Regions from separate parts of the Homo sapiens genome. Here region 2 is linked to region 1. Evidence: promoter capture Hi-C in human tissues and cell types (Jung and others, 2019). All regions are on one chromosome and are shown on one strand. The core of a region is centred on a gene start or on the middle of the fragment in contact, and the rest is flanking DNA. Distances in the headings are between cores, read along the strand shown. Region 1 holds the start of DENND4C (DENN domain containing 4C). Region 2 overlaps ACER2 (alkaline ceramidase 2).

The links. Contacts are between HindIII fragments. The study calls those that stand out against the background at their distance.
Region 2: a contact is called between a fragment that was not itself captured here and the fragment with the promoter of DENND4C in region 1, in 1 of the 25 tissues and cell types used here (H1 embryonic stem cells).

What each region holds. Positions count from the first base shown.
Region 1 is chr9:19,229,049-19,232,169 of GRCh38, reverse strand. It overlaps DENND4C (DENN domain containing 4C), which reads right to left and starts at 1,477. Exons shown (of 33, transcript NM_001330640.2): 1 at 1,337-1,477. RefSeq lists silencers at 930-1,069, 1,290-1,659, 1,740-2,039 and enhancers at 673-1,178, 1,179-1,685, 2,070-2,319. The HindIII fragment of the contact is 7,148 bases long and covers 1-3,121 here.
Region 2 is chr9:19,426,368-19,429,488 of GRCh38, reverse strand. All of the region lies in intron 3 of ACER2 (alkaline ceramidase 2), which reads right to left. Among named protein-coding and RNA genes, the nearest start is that of ACER2, 19 kb to the right of the region's middle. The HindIII fragment of the contact is 4,283 bases long and covers 1-3,121 here.

The DNA of each region.
Region 1 (3,121 bases), core at 228-2,727:
TTTACCAACTCTTTAACAGTAATACAAAGAACAGGACAGAAAATATAGTTTCTTTTTTGCATGCTATAGTGATCAAGAATAAAGGATACCTTTAATGTTCAAAGATGAAAACTTCCTTTTGCAACTAATATTGCTCTTATCGCGTGTACACAGAAAAATCATACAACGCTCTGCATTTCTGATAGAGTAATACACACTATCACATCAAATCAAGTATTTATCCAGAACTTAGCGCCTTAGCACTAACGTTCTCCCCTCTCATTATACACAGACCGGAAGGGAAAACCTATTCCTACGTAAATTAGGGCCTAGGAAGAACGCCTCAACACGGGTTTGCACACAATTAAGCAGGCTCAGTGGGTCAATTTCTCAGGCTACAACGCTTGACAGTATCTCGGAGGCACAAAGAGACAGCTGAGGGTTCACTACTGGAAATGACACTTTCCCTCAAATTTGCACAAGTACCCGCGGTAACTACCCTAAATTTTCCCGTGTGACAAACATACATAAGGGGAGAAGGAGGCGGTACTATTTAAAAACTGGGTAATTCCTTATTAGTGCAGATAAAAGACGGTCTTCGAGAGGGAAAAGGTCTATCAAGCAGAAAAGGGGAGGAAAAAAAAAAAGACGTGACAGCATTCTTAAAACAGAAAAAGTTACAGCTCTTTACAGGAGTCAGCCTTAGGACTTCATTCCTTGGTTTTGTGTTTAGTCACTCCAGAGTTAAAAGGATACTGCCCTCCTAGAAAGTCATCCCCGACAAAGAAGCCCTGAGGATCGGCCACCGTAAGACAGAGAAGGAAATGTCTTCAATTCACCAGAGACACCTGCCCAGGTCCCCCTCCTCCCCGTTGTCCCCGACACTTCTCAGTCCCCCGACTCCTCTCGAGACTGCCCGCCACCCCTGGCTCTAGCTCTCCGCTCTCTCAGCCTCGACCCCCTCTGGGAAGCCCCGATCCTGCTCCCTCCGCACCCCGGCCCCCACCAAAGCGGCCGTCGCCCCGGCGGTCCCCCGGGCCCAGACCCCTCGCGCTTGTACGCAAACGATTCTCATGGGCCCGGCGGGCGACGCGGGGAGGCTCTTCAGGGGCAGCCTTTCCCCGACTGCATCCCGCAGGATCCGGGGACTCCCCGCCCCCGGAAACCGCGGAGAAACTAGGCCACGAACGCCAGCCGCGGCCACTCTCCGCCTCCTCGGCGACCCCCCGCGGGCCAGCCACTCGGAACTCAGCCCTCCGGGCTCTACCTGTCCCGCGCCCTCCCAGCCTTGCAGCGCAGGCCCCGCGAGGGCACGGCGCAGGCTTCCTCCGCCAAAGGCCCCGCGCCGCAGCCTCACCTGCTGCCTGCTCCTCTGTCAGCGCAGCCCCGACACGGCTTCTTCCTGGGGCAAGAAAGCACCGGATTCGCGGACTGGGCGCGCTCGGCAGGGCAGGGCGGGGGACTAGCTCCAGCGGCCGCCGCCGCCTCAGTCCGGTCTGCGCCTGCGCCGCCTCGCGGGCAGGGTCTCCGAGGGGCGCCGCCTACAGCCAGGGGCGATGGCCGGAGCGCTGGCCCGCGCGGGTGCCTCCGCGCTGTGAGCCGTCGGACAGTGCGGGCGGCGCGTCGCCTAGGAGCTGCCCGCGGCGCAGCCGTCCCAAGACCTGACCGCCATGTTTCTGTTCCCTTTTTCTCCCCCGCCTTCCGCCCCTTTCCACAAAACAGCACTTTCTTTTCCCCCTCCCTCTCCCTTTCCTCCTGCGGGGGCGGGTGGAAAAGGGCGGGGGGTGGGAGGGAGAAGACGCAGGGAGGAGGGGGGCGGTGCGGTGCTCAGGCCCCTCCCCCGGGGAGGGCCGAGGCCCTGCAGCCACCGCTCCCCTCCCCCGCCCGACCCCTGTGCGACCCCCGCGGGGCGCGGGGTCTGAGCCTTGCGGGCCTCCGATCCCCTCCTCAGCGTTCGCGCGGCCGAGCCTGCAGAAACAGAGCTGGGGAGAAAGCGCTCTGGAGGCCGCTGTGCACCCCTTCCTGCAGGGCTCAGACTGGCGGTGTGATGTGGGTTTATTGCCTTGGCCTGAGGCAGGTGGCGGCTGCTTCTCTCGGAGTTTTCAAAGACAGGGAAAGTGATGCCGAGTGGCTGAAGGTCACTGAGGACAGTGCCGGGAGATACGTGAAGATTCCTTCCCAGGGAAGGAATCTGGAATTCCCACGCATGAGTAGAGGGCTCTAGAGAGACCCGCGCGCTGGCCCTTCCCGAAACCCCTTGGCTCCAGTGCACCATGTGAGTCCCTGGCCGCGCTCGGTGTCTCTCCTTCGGCCCAGATTTGGGGATGGGAATTCCTAATGGAGAAATCGCTCATTTGCATAGTCAGTACCCTCACGCCTCCTAAGTGTAGCCTCATTATCGACACAGACGCCTGCAGAGTCGTTTCTCTATAATGCAAATTTTGCAGGATATTTTTGAACAACGTTTTTGAGTTATCATAGTAAATGAAAAAGCAATTACTAGTTATTTAGGAAGAAGGAAATGGTTTGAAGTAGAGATAACTTTTTTACCTCTGGGGGGAAAAAAAGGCGAATGACTTCAGATTCCATGGCAGGTCAAAATCAGAACTGGTAAGATTTCTGCATATCTGGTGAGTATCCACATAAATAATCATTTTCCTGAAAATTACACTCTCCTTATTTAATCTGTATTTTTGCATAAAAATGTGAGATTATACCTGGGTCATAAATGCACTGCTGTCCATTTATTTCTGAAGTTTATTGCATAGCCATGGATAATTTGAGTTTTATATTCAATAGCAGAAACTATTTTTCTAACCACGTAAGCAGTCAGAATTGATTTCAGAAGAAATGCGCAGCAATAAAAGTTAAGGCTTATTTAATAACAGTTTGGGGCCAATTTGGTCCCCCTGGAAACTATCTTTGACATTGACAATCCGAAGAGCAAAAGTTTAAGAAAGGATCTAATACTTCAAAATTTAGCTTGTGGGCCGGACGCGGTGGTTCACGTCTGTAATCCCAGCACTTTGGGAGGCTGAGGCGGGCGGATCACCTGAGGTCGAGAGTTCCAGACCAGCCTGACCAACATGGAGAAACACTGTCTCTACTAAAAATACAAAATTAGCCGGGCGTGGTGGTGCAT
Region 2 (3,121 bases), core at 299-2,798, 200 kb before region 1:
GCAGTGACAGGCAGCTGTGGTCCCAGCCACTTGGAAGGCTGAGGTAGGAGGATCACTTGAGCGCAGGAAGCAGAGGTTGCAGTGAGCCATGACTGTGCCACTGCACTCCAGCCTGGGCAACAGAGTGAGATCCTGTCTCCAAAAAACAAAACAAAAAAAGTAGATACAATTAGCCTATAATAGTTCCTTGTTCTCATTTTTTTCTTAAAATAAAAACTCTAAAAATTATTAATAACCATCAGCAATTCAGTATATGTCCTAAAGAGTCTCAGGACATTTTAGGCAAGATGAAAGAAAGTTTTTTTCTATAAACCCAACATTTATATCCTATTGACATAATGAACATTAATAATTTCCCTACATAAAATATGTACAACTATTACATATCAATAAAAAATTCAGGCCAGGCACAGTGGCTCATGCCTGTAATCCCAGCACTTTGGGAGGCCGAGGCGAGCGGATCATGAGGTCAGGAGTTCGAGACCAGCCTGGCCAACCTGGTGAAACCCTGTCTCTACTAAAAATACAAAAATTAGCTGGGCATGGTGGCAAGTGCCTGTAATTCTAGCTACTTGGGAGGCTGAGGCAGGAGAATCATTTGAACCCAGGAGGCAGAGGTTGTAGTCAGCCAAGATCGCACCACCGCTCTCTAGCCTGGGTGACAGAGCAAGACTTCATCTCAAAAAAAAAAAAAAAAAAAAAAAAAAAAAAACCCACTTGTCCATAAGCCATTCATAATAACCACCAGAACTTACTGAGTCTTTACTCTGTGTGAGCCATTGTACTATAGGCCTTACGTAATTTTCCCATGTATTTCTGATCCCATCAGGAAGATACTTTTGTCATCTCCAATTTATAGACAAGCAAAACAGGGTCCCAGAGCCTTTTTTTTTTAGGTTAATTGTTATTCAAAGCCATGTTGTCTGATCCAAACTTACTTAGCCACCACACTCTCCTGTCTCTTCTCCAAAAATCTCACATTAAAACTGTTTTTAATGTGTGTTTAGAATATTCCAGCAAAGGCCAGATATGGTGGCTCATACCTGTAATCCCAGTACTTTGGGAGGCCAAGGCAGGCAGATCACCTGAGGTGAGGAGTTCGAGACCAGCCTGGCCAACATGGCAAAACCCCGTCTCTACTAAAAATACAAAAATTAGCCACATGTGGTGACATGCACCTGGAATCCCAGCGACTCGGGAGGCTGAGGCAGGAGAATCACTTGAACCTGGGAGGCAGAGGTTGCAGTGAGCCGAGATCGTACTATTGCACTCCAGCCCGGGCAATAAGAGTGAAACTCTGTCTCAAAAAAAGAAAAAACAAAATGAAACAAAAAAGAATATTCCAGCAAAGTCTAGATCAAGAAAAAAAGAAAAGAAAAGAAAGAGAAAGAAAGAGAGAGAGAGAGAGAAGGAAAGGAAAGGAAAGGAAAGGAAAGGAAAGGAAAGGAAAGGAAAGGAAAGGAAAGGAAAGGAAAGGAAAAAGGAAAAAGGAAAGGAAAGGAAAAAGGAAAAAGGAAAGGAAAGGAAGGGCATGATGGCTCACACCTGTAATCCCAGCACTTTGGGAGGCCAATGTGGGCAGATCACAAGGGCAGGAGATCGAGACCATCCTGGCTAACATGGTGAAACCCCATCTCTACTAAAAATACAAAAAATTAGCCAGGCGTGGTGGCGGGCGCCTGTAGTCCCAGCTACTCGGGAGGCTGAGGCAGGAGAATGGCGTGAACATAGGAAGTGGAGCTTGCAGTGAGACCAGATTGTGCCACAGCACTCCAGCCTGGGCAACAGAGAGACAGTCCGTCTCAGAGAAAAGAAAGAAAAGAGAAGAGAAGAGAAGAGAAGAGAAAAGAAAGGAGGGGGGGAGGGAGGGAAGGGAGAAAGAAAGAAAAGGAGATAAACGTTTACTATTTGGTAAGTTCAGGCAGAAAAACCGGAAATCCCTGATCTACAGAAATCCTGGTTTTGACATGAATTTTTTGGTCTGGTCTGCCACTTCCACTGCAGAGCTGCCACCTGTCCCGTGTCATGGGGAGTGAAGTACAAGCAAAGGGGCTTGGCCTTCTTGCCCTCCCTGGTCACTGGAAAATTGAAGATGTGCAAATAGACTTGAAATCCTTTTTTACTTTTCCCTTAACATGTACCTTTTATTTCTTTGCTCATTAAAATTGTCAATGTACATTATCTCCATCGATTTGTATGCATATCTCAGAAATGCTAGGCAGAACTCTCCTCTCCATGCCCCAGGCAGTCAGGAGAGCTAACTTTGACTGAGCCCTCTCCATGTTGCTTAGTATTATGCTAAGTGCCCTACAGGATCGTCTCAAAGATGAACACTATTGTTTACCTAATTTTACAGATAGGGAAATAGAAAGAGTCAAGACAAGTCATACAGTCTGCAAGTTGTAAAGCTAGGATTCAAACCCAGATTGCTTCCAAAGCCAGGGATATATACACATATGGTACCCAGTGCCTCCAAAGGAGGACAGAGTGGCTATATCTTCACATCTTCCCCAGAGAAATGCTGCAGGCTGCTGGTGATGAAAAAGTCCCAATAGTCACAGACAACTCTGCCTCACAATATGCTTTCATTATTTTTTTTCTATTTTTTTAATGGGGTTTCACTGTGTTGCCCACGCTGGGCTCAAGAGATCTTCCTGCCTCAGCTTTTTGAGTGGCTGGGACTACAGGCGTGCACCACCCCAACTGGCTCTGTTTTCATTATTAAAGTTGGTAAGCTTTAACTACCAATGTCATCACCCCATTTTCTTCTTTCCTGCTCAAACAACTTTCCCCCTACCTCCAAGAATCAAGAAAAGAAAAGAAAAAAAAGGTTTTCTATAAGGAATACATTAAAAACTGTCCCTTGGAATTTCAACCCAGGCCTCAAGAATGTCACAAACAAATACACAAAACGTTTATTCCCATTTCTTCAATTTCTTACTCAGACTTGAAAAATAAGATATCTGAGAAAAGCGATTCCTCAGCTCTCAATCTAACGTACACCAGGTTTAGAGAAAGCATCATGGTGACTGGTGGGTATCTTTCAAGACAGGAGGGGAAGGGGAAGGGAGGGGAAAGGAGGGGAAGGGAAAGGAGGAGAGAGAGAGAGAGAGAGAGAGAG